Linked DNA regions of Homo sapiens: region 1 is linked to region 2. The links are contacts of gene promoters, found by promoter capture Hi-C in blood cells and fetal thymus (Javierre and others, 2016). All regions are on one chromosome and are shown on one strand. The core of a region is centred on a gene start or on the middle of the fragment in contact, and the rest is flanking DNA. Distances in the headings are between cores, read along the strand shown. Region 1 holds the start of CCDC110 (coiled-coil domain containing 110). Region 2 holds the start of TLR3 (toll like receptor 3).

Region 1 (6,630 bases), core at 1,553-4,052, 600 kb after region 2:
ATTAATTGCAATAATTTTCTGACAAAATTTTTGTTTTAACTGAGAATATATATGTGATGTGCTTTACAAAAGAGAAATGAGTGTGATAATCAAAAGGCCTTATAGGACATCTAAAATAAAGTGTCCTTCTAACTAAAGAGCTGCTTTTCTGACTGATGAATGGATTAGGAAGTAGCTTAAAATGGAAGTAACTCTCTATTGAGATTAGTGCACTGGCTAAATCTGAGTTTGATGTTGTAGCATCTATCACCTGCTTTTTATATTCTACACTAAATGGTATGACTGAGTGCTCCCACAAAAATCCACAAGTAATTTCTATGTAATAACCGATATTAATTTGTCATCATAGTCCACAAATATTACATAGACAAATTAGAGTTATTACACATTATTACATAAATTATCAAATGATTAGATATTAATAATTAGCATTACATAAAATACAATATAGTAATTAATTGTGGAAACTTCAGTAGTATAAAAACAGACTTGCTAAAATGTAGTGGCTTTTTGTCATTCACCCTTTGAAGGAATGCAATTTATTTACAGTAGTAATTTCACAAACATATTGCTGAAAACTTGTGTAGCTCTCAGGAAAAAAATTAACTTTATCAATGAAGCAGCCTCATTGTGTGGGCTGACACCAAGGTTTGCTGTCTCACAGGGAGATCAAGGATGCAGACACACAAAGAGTGAGGTTAAGAGCCGAAATGTAATAGGCGACAAGAAAGGGAATAAGCTCTCCGCTACAGAAAGGGGTCCCCGGGTTGCCAATTCGCTGTGAAATATTTTTTATAGAATTTTATAGATGAGCTAATGGGGAGGCAGTCTGATCTACATAGGGCGTGAAAAACCAGTTAGGACCAGGTGTGCCATCTGCATAGGGCATGAATCTCTGGCAGCCCCCACCCCAATCTTTTACTACGCAGGTGGGTTCTCTGACTGAGCTTTTCCATATCGCCCATCTCTTTCTTACTGTACACGTGCTAACAAAAAAGGGGAGATGGAGATTCCATGGTGGACATGCCTGGCCCCCAGGTAGCCCTTTTCTATCAGCGCAGCTGCTGGCATCCACCCGCACGCTGCCCCCCAACCCCCTGCGCCCTGGTGTGCACGCTTCCAGCTTCCTGATCTATCTTTGCAAGGTTTGCAGGCTTTCAGGCTGCTCTTTGTTAGAAAAAAAAATGATTTCTTGAGCTGTTTTTTGTTAGAAGTTCTGCTGAAGACTCTTTTGCCCTATCTGCCTAAATAATTTCTATCTCCTGAATCATCAATATCAATCAGCAATGCAGACCATAAATTCTCAAAATTATAATTTATTAAAATTGTCTACAATGCCACAAGAAAGTCAAATCTTCTAGAGCCCATTTTTTTCTTTCTTTCTTTCTTTTTTTTTTTTTTTTTTTTGAGACAGAGTGTCGCTCTGTGGCCCAGGCTGGAGTGCAGTTGCACTATGTCGACTCACTGCAGCCTCTGCCTCCTGGGTTCAAGTGATTCTCCTGCCTCAGCCTCCCGAGTAGCTGGGATTACGAATGTACTCCACCATACCTGGCTAATTTTGGTATTTTTAGTAGAGACAAGGTTTCACCATGTTGGTCAGGCTGGTCTCGGACTCCTGACCTCAGGTGATCCACCCGCCTCGGCCTCCCAAAGTGCTGGGATTACAGGTGTGAGCCATCATGCCGGACCTAGAGCCCATTTCTTTTCTTTTTTTTTTTTTTGTTTGTTTTTTTTTGTTTTTTTGAGACGGAGTCTGGCTCTGTTGCCCAGGCTGGAGCACAGTGGCGCCATCTCGGCTCACTGCAACCTCCGCCTCCTGGGTTCAAGCGATTCTCCTGCCTCAGCCTCCTGAGTAGCTGAGATTACAGGCGCGTGCACTAGAGCCCATTTCTATAAGAAACAAATTAGAGGAAGTAAGCACTGAAACTATCATAAGAAGTTTCATTTCAATGAAAGCAAGCCATCATGTATTACTTATTATATATTATATGTTATTATATAGCAAATTATGATATCCTGGTGATTGTGATTTTGAATTTTAATTTTCTATGTGTGATGGTTTACTACAAAATAAATAATATATACTCGTTTAAAACTTTAAAGAGCACCATTTTCTGATGGGCAGGAGGATTAGCTGGGGGCACGCACCCAGTCCTTGGTTAAAGGAGGTCAGGTTTCCCGTGAACGCAACATCAATCCTGCACGTGATACACCAGGTGCGTAAAAATTAACATGCTTAGACAAAGGAAGCCCACCGTCGCTTCCCACAGCTTTCATGAGCATATTTTAATACATGTTTAGGTTAATTCATTATTGAAAAATAGGAGTCTTCTTTTCATTGCAGCAAACAAAAGTCCTTTCACAATATTGGTCATGGGCCGTTCAAATCCCCAAATGCTGAAACTCCTCTGAGGGATGCGCTGAAATGAGAGGACTAAGAATTAAAAAAAAAAAACAACAGCGATGAAGTGGAGATGTGGAAAGGCAAAGGGAAAGCTCTCAGGCGTGTGTCCGTCCCCGGGCGGTCCCTTTCTCCGCACCGCTTTGGTCCGGCGGGTACCGCAGCGAGTCCGAGTGTGAGCAAGCCCGTCCCGGACAGCCGCGCGCGTGTGCGGGGAGGCGCCCAGGTGGGCTGTCCCAGGCCAGGTTCCCAGGGAAGCTCTCGGGGAAGCGTCCGGAGTGAGGAGGGACCCACCGGGACCCCACCAGGGACCCCAGCCGAGCGCGCGCCGCCGAGGGTGGGGGTGGGGCCGGCGCCCCGGCCACCCGGTTACCTGGCGACAGGATGCCCTGCGCGGGGCGGCGGAGCGGGTGCGTGCGGCGGCGGTTGCGAGAGAGATGAGCCGCGGCGATGAGCCCGGGTAAGAGTTGGACGGGGCGGGGCTCCTAGGGGAGCCGCGGGAACGGAGGGCAGCAGAAGGGCATTCAGCAGGCGGCTCCCCGCTCGAAAACCCGGGACATCCCGGGTCCGCCCTTCTGCACTCGCCGCACATCTCCCGCTCGGCCCTAGGGCTGAGCACCCGCTGCGGCCCCCTGCGTCCGCTGTGGCTTACAGGCTGGCTACGTGGTCTGCCGCCGCCGCCCGCCCAGCGCGCCCTCGGGTGGCCGCTTGCGGAAAGCGCCGCGCCCCGCCCCAGGCCCGGCCTGATGCCGTCCCTCCGCCCCATCCCTCCGCCCCGCCCCAGCCTTCAGCCTTGACCCCGCCCCATTCCTCTGCCCCCACAGGTCCCGCCCAGTCTCTCCGCCCCATCCCATCCCTGCGCCCCGCCCCAGCCTTCAAACCCGCCCCCTCCTAATTCCCTCCGCCCCGCCCTCCCCGCCCTCCCCGCCCCCCCGCCCCAGCCTTCAGCCCCGCCCCCTCCTAATTCCCTCCGCCCCGCCCCAGCCGTTAGCCCTGCCCCGCCCCATCCCTCTGCCCCGCCCCCACCTTCAGCCCCGCCACGCCACGACCCGCGACAGAACAGCCCCGGACGGTTCTGTTACAGAAAAGCAGCACCGGGAAGAGGATGAAGTTGACTCCGTTCTCCTTTCAGCGTCCAAGATCCTAAATTCTTCGGAGGGGGTGAAGGAAAGTGGCTGCAGTGACACAGGTAAAATCGCCAGACCGTAAAAGGCTCCTTTAACTATACACAGGCGGCAGCATCTGGCCTGTGCCACCTGCTCACCTGGCGTGCTTCCCACGGCCGTGATGACACGGACAGCAGCCACCACGGCACTCGCGCTTTGTGCCAGTGCTGTTCTAAGCACGTAATGGATCAACTGTTTAATTCTCACAACACTTTTACGAGGTGGGTGCTACCACGATCCCCATTTTGCAGATAAGGAAACGGGCACAGAGAGGTTAACTCCCTAAGGTCACACAGGCAGCGAGGAATGGAGCGGGCATTCAGCAGGGCGGCTCCGGACTGCCTGTCTTCACCACCACGCTACGCTCCGTTGCTTCTCTGAATGCTAAGTAAGAATTGTTGAGTTTTTTGGACACACACTAAAACGATATGCAGTCAGCCCTCGGTATCTGGGAGTTCCGCATCCTTGGATTCAACCAACCACAGATGGAAAATATTCAGGGGGGAAAATTTTTAAAAATAACAGTACCACAATTTTTAAATGCAAATTTTGAACAGTATAACAGCCATTTACATAGCATTTACATTGTATAAGGTATTACAAGTAATCGAGAGATGATTTAAAGTATACAGCAGGATACACATAGAAGCTATGCAAATACTACCCCATTTTGTATTAGGGACTTGGGCATCTGCAGATTTTGCTATCCGCAGAGGCTCTGGAACCAATCCCCTGTGGATATCCAGGGAGGGGTGTATACCTTTTCTAAAGAAAACTACTTTTTATAGTAAATATTTACGGACTACAGGATATTATATGGGGAGGATGTTTGAAATAGCCACATAGCTAAAGCTTTCAAGCACCACATAAATTATGAATAAGATGGGGGTACCCAGCTAGGGGAATCTGAGGACATTGAAGGTGGAGTCCCAGGCGACTGACTACACGCCTCTCAGAGGAGCCTGCTGTGAGGGGACATGCCGGGGAAGGAGCAGAGCACGGGGCAGGAGAAGGGTCTAGACTGATGTGCCATGCCCGGACCCCCAGTTGCCCCTCTGTAGGATATGGGCAATCCTGATGCCAAAGTGCTGAACCACAAGAGGACTGAGGTTGGGACAGGATTTCTGCACCTCCACCATGCAAGATCTTCACAAAAAGCCTTGTCAGGGCCCGGAAAGAAGAGACTAGAGCAGCCACACCTCAGTAGACAGAAGACACCCGGGTGCCCAGGCACTACCAGGATGAGCAACACCCCAGTGGAGGCCAGCAGGACAGGCACTGGCCAGTCCCCTCTCCGCCCTCCTGCCTCCACCCTTGAGATATGCAGGTTTCCCTGGGCAACCAGGAGGGGCAAAGGGGCCCCCTGAACGAAGGAGAAAGAGTCCTCACAGAGAGTTGAGACATTGAGGTAGCTCCGTATTTACCTCAAAGAGAGCATGTAAGGTCAGAAGAAATAGAAGTACCTTAATTTGGCAAGATCACATGTTTTTTGACATGAATGAGGCTTAGGGTTCTGGAGAAAGATGCCAACATTTATAGAAAATAGTTACATGCAAAATAGCACATGTACATGTTTAAGAGTTACAGTCTTTCTTGCCAGAACACAGTGTTTACAGGTCTGGGGTTGACACAGGACAGGTTCTTAATAAACACCAGTTATCTTGAGTCAGGGGCCACCCAGGAATTTCCTGCCTGCAACTATAGGCAAAACTAGGAGGTATGGCTGGCGCCCTTCTCTCTACTCTCCTACTGATGCTTTCATTGTCACCAAGTGATCCATTCCCCGTGTACTGAGAAAATAATGACCTGATTTGCATAACTACTGCCAGGTTACAAAGAGTTATAGAATGTTCCCAAGGTGTCTCTGATTTCAGAACTAGTGGTTAACCTAATTAACCCTTATTGGAATGGGTTTGTGAGAGACTTTTGAATTTGAGGGTGTCCAGGGTGTTGTTCCCAGCACCCTGTTGTACCCGAGCTTTCATTCATTCATTCGTTTGTGGAGCATATTCTTTTGAGCACCTGCTAAGTTTCAAGTGCTGTTCTAGGTGCTGGGGATCCAACAGTGAACAAGACTTGCAAGATTCCCTGCCCACATGGAGCTTACCTTCTAGTGAGGGAACAGACAGACAAAGGCTATTGTGTGTAAGCGGGGAATAAATTCTATGGAGAACATAAGGCTGAGAAGGGGGGGAGGAATATTTGGAGTGGCAGAGGTGGGTGGGAAGTGTGTCATTTTAAACAGGGTGGTAGGAGAAGGGCTCACTCAGCAGGTCACGTCTGAGCCAAGACCAGAAGGAAGTAAAGAAGCAATCTGTGCAGATTTCTAGGGAAAGAGCACCGCAGGCAGAGAGAATGGCAACTGCAAAGACCCTGTGGTGGGAGCGTGGCTGGTGTGATTGAGGAACGGTTGCTCTTGTAAATGGAGCAGAACAAGTAGGGAAGGGTAGGCGGGAGGAACCAGGACAGGGCTTTGTAGTTCCATGGATGAATTTGGGATTTATTCTGAGAAAATTGAGAAGCACTGGAGAATTTTGAGAAGGCTTCTCTCCCCTCCGTCTTGACTAGAAATTTTGAATTTACCAAATTATCATCATATTGCCTCTGCAGTAATGAGTTAGTGTCTCTTGAGCATTCACTATGTGCCGTACACCTCGTACACCTCAGTAAGGGCTTTATCTACAAACTGGACACTCGCCTAGAGTTATCCCCTCACTGCGAGTGTGTGGCAAAGCTAGAATTCAAATCTGGGCGGCAGGCAACCTGTTGCATAGCTCCTTGCATAATGACTGTGACAAAGCCTCATGCAGAGGGTGCCACACCTCACAAAGCTTTGTAAGACAGGGACATCTAGGAATGAACTTGAATTGTCACAGCAGAACTCAGTATTAGAACCTGCGGCCAGGCATGGTGGCTCACGCCTGTAATCCCAGCATTTTGGGAGACCGAGGCAGGAGGATCACCTGAGGTCAGGAGTTTGAGACCAGCCTGGCCAACATGGTGAAACCCCGTCTCTACTAAAAATACAAAAATTAGCCGGGTGTGCTGGCACATGCCTGTAGT
Region 2 (6,373 bases), core at 1,100-3,599:
TACCTCTCAAATGCTGGGGACCAGCTCCCCACCTGCCCCCTCTCTGAGAGTGTCCCAAACCTCTCTTCCAGTTCCTTCAGAACTTCCTATCTCTATTTACCAACTCATAGGTAAGGTCCCTACAATACATTCTCCTTGCTTAGGTGAGATGTACCCCTCTGGTAGGGCTCCTGCTATAGGTCAGAATTGCTGAGAAGGACTAATCCATTACAAAGCATATCCCTGAATGACTTAAGGACTTGCCCCATCTGAAGACATTTCATCAGTGGGCAAAACTCACCAAATGCTAGGCAGGAGGAGTGAAAGAGGAACAAACTTGGAGAGACTCCTATGAAATTTCAGAATTGCAACCATGCACACAAAAATCCTAAAACCTTCATTTCCAAAGAAAAGAGATCTTGATTAATAAAAAACTTTTCATCAGTAACATGAACCACTGGAAAACAATAGAGATAAGCTTTCCAAACATTTAGAGAAAATTATTTTGAATTTAAAATTTCATATCCAGGCAAAGCATAGTGGCTCATCCCCACAATCCCGGCACTTTAGAAGGTGTAGGCAGAAGGAGATCAGGAGCTCAACACCAGCCTGGGCAACATAGTGAGACCCCGTATCTACAAAAATATTTTAGAAAGTAGCCAAGTGTGGTGGCACAAGCCTGTAGTTCCAGCTACTTGGGAGGCTGAGGCAGGAGGATCGCTTGAGCCCAGGAGGTTAAGGCTGCAATGAATCATGATCACACCACTGCACTCCAGCCTGGGCAACAGAGCAAGACCTTACCTCTAAAAAACAAGAAAATTACCTTTGACCAGGCCAAGAAAATTACCTGTGGCTCATGCCTGTAATCCCATCACTTTAGGAAGCTGAGGCTGGAGGATCCCTTGAGCCTAGGAGTTTGGGACCAGCCTGGGCAACACAGGGAAACCTCATCTCCACCAAAATTTTTTTTTAAATTAGCTGGCCATAGTGGTTCACACCTGTGGTCCCAGCTACTCGTGACACTGAGGTGTGAGAATTGCTTGAGCCAGGGAGGTCAAGGCTGCAGTGAGCCACGATCATGCCACTGTACTTCAGCCTGGGCAACACAGCGAGACCTTGTCTCTAAATCGATAAATGAAATAAAATGAAATAAAATAAAATAAAATAAGATAGGGAAATTTCACATCCATCTGAATAACTAAATAAAAAGGTATAAGTATTTTGAGATATGCAAAAATTCAGTAAGTTTATAGCCATACGATCTGTATGAAAAGGTTATTCTAGGACATGCTTCAGTAAAACAAGCAAAAATGCAGTTAAAGGATGAAATGAGAGTGAAGAAAACGTTGCTGTTGAATGAGATCTAGCAGAAATAAAGAAAATGAAAAAAAATTAAAAAGAGACTCACTCAGCCTTAGAATTTTGGAAATATTTTGTGAGGGCACATGGAATTCACATTCTTTGTCCAAGTGAGAGACAATATTGCCTGATGGTTAGGACATGGGGTCTGGAGGCAGACTACCTGGAGTTAACCACTATCCATAGTTTGATTTGTAAACTTTGCAACCTTTGTAGTAGGTTCATACACAGGCACGCCCATATGAAGACACATACCAGCACGTAATCATCTGTAAACCTGGGAATCAACTTGCTGAAGCCAACTCCATTTTTACCCGAGTACCCCACAATTGCCGATACCAGTTTCTGATCTTCCCATACACCTTAACAACTTTCCACTTCTCCACTTCTTCCATTATCCTTCATTAGGTGAAAGAAAGCCATTTACTTACTCCTAGGCATACCTGAATGTTCTCTCCTATCTAAGACATTGTCATACAATGCCAGCTCCTGTCTCCCCTCCAGCCAATAAAACTAACAAAAGGGGATACGCTCTTTTAACCTCTTGGAGTTTTGTTTCTTTAAGGCAAAGATGTGATTTGCTAAAAAGACTGTTGCAAAATGATTTCCATAGCTTCCCTAATGTGTTTTTTCCAGGTACAGAATGCTACAGAGAAAAAAATTAAATACTGCATAAATACATTATCACATTAACTAGATATTGGTGCTATTACTTGTGTTCTGAGTTATACCCTTCTCCCATGCCCATATCATATCCCTTTTCTTCCACTTTCCTTCCTGAATAATTCTGACTAGATTTCAAGCACCAGATCAAAGAAAGACCAAAGAAGGCTAAAACCACATGCATTCTGCTAGCAAACTCTACTCAGCAAGAGAGACCCTGCCCAGTAAGAACGTGAAATGAACACCTTCACTTACTTGGATGACTGCTAGCCTTTCCTTTTTTCTTTAGTCCAAATCCAGACATTTCATCAGGGAAGTGTGTGGCAAATAGACGGCACTCTCGAAAGTGAAAGTAAAGCTTGAAAAAAAATGCTTTTATGTTTGGTGCATTCCAAGAAGGGCAAAGGGAGAAAACAAAAACAATCTCTGACAACCTCAGAGAGGCGTTTCAAACCGCCTCTGAAAAACACCTAGTTTTTATTTTATTTTAACTTTTTTTAAGCTGAGATCCTTGGATTTCATTGAAAGGGTCACAGATTTAGCAACAGCTAAAGTTGAAAGTGGGGACCTCACCATTTGATGTGGGCGGGTCTGGACCTCTGCAAGTTAAGGAATAACAGTGAATCCCTCAATTTTCTGCTAGACTCATGCGAAGCTGTCAGAATTGAGTAGTGTATGGTCACAGGGACAGAAAAAAAAATCCCTAATCAAAGCTGAAGTACTTTCCCTTCTTTCGTCTGGCTTTTATCTCTTTGCAACACTGTAAAATAACACCGGCAGAAATTAACCTCTTGATCCAGGAAGAAACTGAGTTTCACAGCAGAGAAAGAGCCAAACATGGCAAAGCTGAGAGCCAGTCCCACTCCTGCTGATCCACTTTTCCACGGTCAGACGCGTTAGGGAACAGATCAGTATGCCCAGAAAAGTTCAGATTAACTAAGAATTTCGTTCTTAATTTGCTTTAATGACTCCAACTAGTTAAGTAAATGTACTTGTTAAGAAATGAACTCACTTTTTTTCATTACAGATGTGCTATGATCTATTATAACTATATTGTTATATAGTGAAATATCACAATTGGAAGGAACTATAGACCACCTAATCTAACTCCCTTGTTTGAGAAATTAGGAAAACGAAACCTAGGGAGGTGAGTGGTTTGCCTAAGAACATGCCACAAGCCACCATATGCTTCAATCACACAAGTCATAAAACAACTGGACGGCTGGGACATGGCATTAGCTTGAACTCATTGCAGAGCTGATGGCAAGAAACAAGCGTGCATCATGGTGCAAAGTGCCCTCTTGTGGGCTCCAGCTTCAGCTAGACCGCTTTATAGTTACTGGGCTCAGGGCTACATGTCTCTGATTTTCATTTGTGACATCTGTAACATAACACCATAAGCAAACAGATGTCCTGAGTACGTGACTGTCCCTCACATCTATCCATTGGGATGTCCAGGAAAACTTCACTAATATTCAAAAGATTTCTTCTCTGTGAGCGCCTTGAAGGCAGGGTGAGGTTTATTCTTTGCATTATAGCTCCCCAGCAACCCTCTGAGGTAGACTGTTTCTTTGGCCTTCAATGAAAGAGACTCGTCCTCAGAATTCAAACCCTTGTGTGGCCTTCTCCCACGCTGACTCTAGGCTTGGCCATTTGACTAGCTTTGACCAGTGGGATATTAGCAAGCATGCAACAAGGTCTCATTGCCAAACACGATTACCCAGGCTTGAGAAGCAAGCAAATAAATGATTGTTGTTTTAAATTTAAAAAAATTGGAATGGTGTCATATGCATTATTAGCGAAATAAAACACATCATCTCAACAATCCTTCATACCTATCCCTTATGCCTTATGACTCCTTATACAGATTAAATTTCCCACGACTTTGGTTGACTAATGAATGGCTCTCGATAAATAAATTTTATTGATGGTCTCCTGATGCAGTAGTTTGGGCTTAATACCAGTTCATATTCAGATATTATTAGTCCTTAATTCTTGCTAGTTTCTAAATACAACACAGATTGTTTTCTCTCTACTGTACATTTCTTAACTATGTGCATTAACTTATTTAGCTATGATGGTGATTGGAGCAATAGTGAAAAACCTCATTTTTCCCCTTTTTAAAAGAATTAAGGCTGGGAGCAGTGGATCATGCCTGTAATCCCAACACTTTAGGAGATTGCTTGAGCCTAGGAGTTCAAGACCAACCTGGGCAACGTGGTAAAACTCCATCTCTACAAAAATTACAAAAATTAGCTGGGCATGTTGGTGCATGCCTATAGTCTCAGCTACTTGGGAGGCTGAGGTGGGAGGATCACTTGAGTCCAGGCAAATTCAAGTTTGCATTGAGTCATGAGTGCGCCACTGCACTCCAGCCTGGGTAACAGAGGGAGACCCTGTCTCAAAAAAAGAGAGAGAGAGAATTAAAAAAAAATGTATGCCCATAAATGTAAAATAACAAATTTAGTAAACACTGATATTTCACAGCATTACAGATCAGCCAATCTCAGAATAATGGGAAGCTGTATATTCCCAGCAAAACAGAGATCTACAGAATTCTAGAAGCCAAAGTCCCTTAAATTTATTCACATTCTAAAAACTCTAAGTTCCCTTCTTCCATTTGAGGGGCCTCTTTAATGAGAGTTTAGTAAGATAATATACACAAAATTTCTGGAAGAATCACTTGACAAAACACAGCAAGTTACAGAGACCGGAGTGACAAGCCAGATATAATTAGCAAATTACCACTCACATGCTGAACTACACAGACACTGTTCTTCTCTGCCCGTTCCTAATAACAATTCTTAATAAAACAGCCGTTTTTATTTTTTTTAATCTTTTTTTTCCTGAGACAGAGTCTTGCTCTGTCACCCAGGCTGTAATTCAGTGGCGCGATCTCAGCTCACTGCAAGCTCCGCCTACCGGGTTCAAGTAATTCTCCTGCCTCAGCCTCCAGAGTAGCTAGCTGGGACTACAGGCACGTGCCACGACGCCCGGCTAATTTTTTGTATTTTTGGTAGAGACGAGGTTTCACCGTGTTAGCCAGGATGGTCTCGATCTCCTTACCTCGTGATCCACCCACCTTGGCCTCCCAAAGTGCTGTGATTACAGGCGTGAGCCACTGCGCCCGGCCAATTACAACCATTTTACCTATAGACAAAGATAGTGTATAGTCTGTAGGCAGTCTAGTCAATTCATTATAAGATTTATAAGGGAAAGTTTATCATTTTCATTATCATCATTATCAGCACCTACAATACTGAGGCTTTACGGAACCATCTTTACAATCTCCCGAATGAATGAATTTAGACATGAGGATTGTGTCACCGCAGTTTCTAACCACAAATATAGAGAATTGAAATTGTGGGGCAAACAGAAGACTCTCCTCTCAATGCATGTATGTGAAAAGGCAGATTAGTACTGAACAATACAATAATTACACTCTGTGAGGGCCAAATATAGAGAGAACTAATTGCTCAGTAATACTTAACATTTGTGCCAGCAATGAATATCCAATTATGAGTGAGCTGTTGGGTATTTGAGGCAATATCATGCATAGGTTTAATTTAAACGGGCTCTTAGAGTCTCAGAAGTAAACCTTTATTCATGGTGTTAAAGTACATTAAAATGGAGACCAGGCCAGAAGAATCCATGAACATACCAAACCAGCAAGGGCTCATAAGCGACCTCGACCTTGCTTGATCTGCAAACATAAGTGACATACGCAAACATAATAACTTGAGCACTATATCTTGTAAATGCCTATATTAAAGAAAACGTAAACACAACCAATCAGAAGCAGCCAACAAACTTATATAACTAAGGACTTTCCAATGAGATAGACCAAATAAGGTAGCTGTATAACTGTAAACAGTCAAGCGCTGTCTTTGCTCTACTTCTGTCTCTGTCCTGAAAAAGCCTTCTCTTGTGTTCCCTTGGTGGAGCTCCCCAACCACTTCTGGTTCATGAATCATTGCTGGTTCAGAAGCACTGTAAAACTGTATTGTGCCTCAGTTTACTTTTTTATTTGTATAGATTTATGGGAGTACTAGTGCCATTTTGTTCCATGCGTAGATTGCATAGTGATGGAGTCAGGGTCTTTAGGGTATTCATCACCCAAATAACATATATTGTGCCATTAGTATCAGTTTACTTTTTAAGAATAGGAACAAGGAGATTGGACCAACCAATGTTCTCTGGGTTGGCAGGAAGCCAAAGTAAGGCTAGACCTTTTCATCATTCAAACTTCTCATGGGTATGTAATGCGATGAATATATTATGAACCTAAACAAATGGTTAAATTCCCTGAGAGCACCAGATAGACAGTCATTGTGAACTGCACTCAACTGGTCCCTTCACAGCCCCCATTCAG

What was found. Contacts are between HindIII fragments. The CHiCAGO score rates a contact against its expected background, and 5 or more counts as called.
Region 1: a contact is called between the fragment with the promoter of CCDC110 here and the fragment with the promoter of TLR3 in region 2, in 8 of 17 cell types (M0 macrophages, M1 macrophages, M2 macrophages and 5 more). The highest score is 22.1, in M0 macrophages.

The regions. Positions count from the first base shown.
Region 1 is chr4:185,467,905-185,474,534 of GRCh38, reverse strand. It overlaps CCDC110 (coiled-coil domain containing 110), which reads left to right and starts at 2,802. Exons shown (of 7, transcript NM_152775.4): 1 at 2,802-2,861; 2 at 3,486-3,590. The coding sequence starts at 2,852. It overlaps LOC105377590 (a long non-coding RNA gene), which reads right to left and starts at 3,104. Exons shown (of 2, transcript NR_133944.1): 1 at 2,775-3,104; 2 at 2,272-2,420. RefSeq lists a silencer at 2,588-3,217. The HindIII fragment of the contact is 5,122 bases long and covers 1-4,421 here.
Region 2 is chr4:186,065,132-186,071,504 of GRCh38, reverse strand. TLR3 (toll like receptor 3) reads right to left here and starts at 2,349. Exons shown (of 5, transcript NM_003265.3): 1 at 2,257-2,349. The HindIII fragment of the contact is 1,902 bases long and covers 460-2,361 here.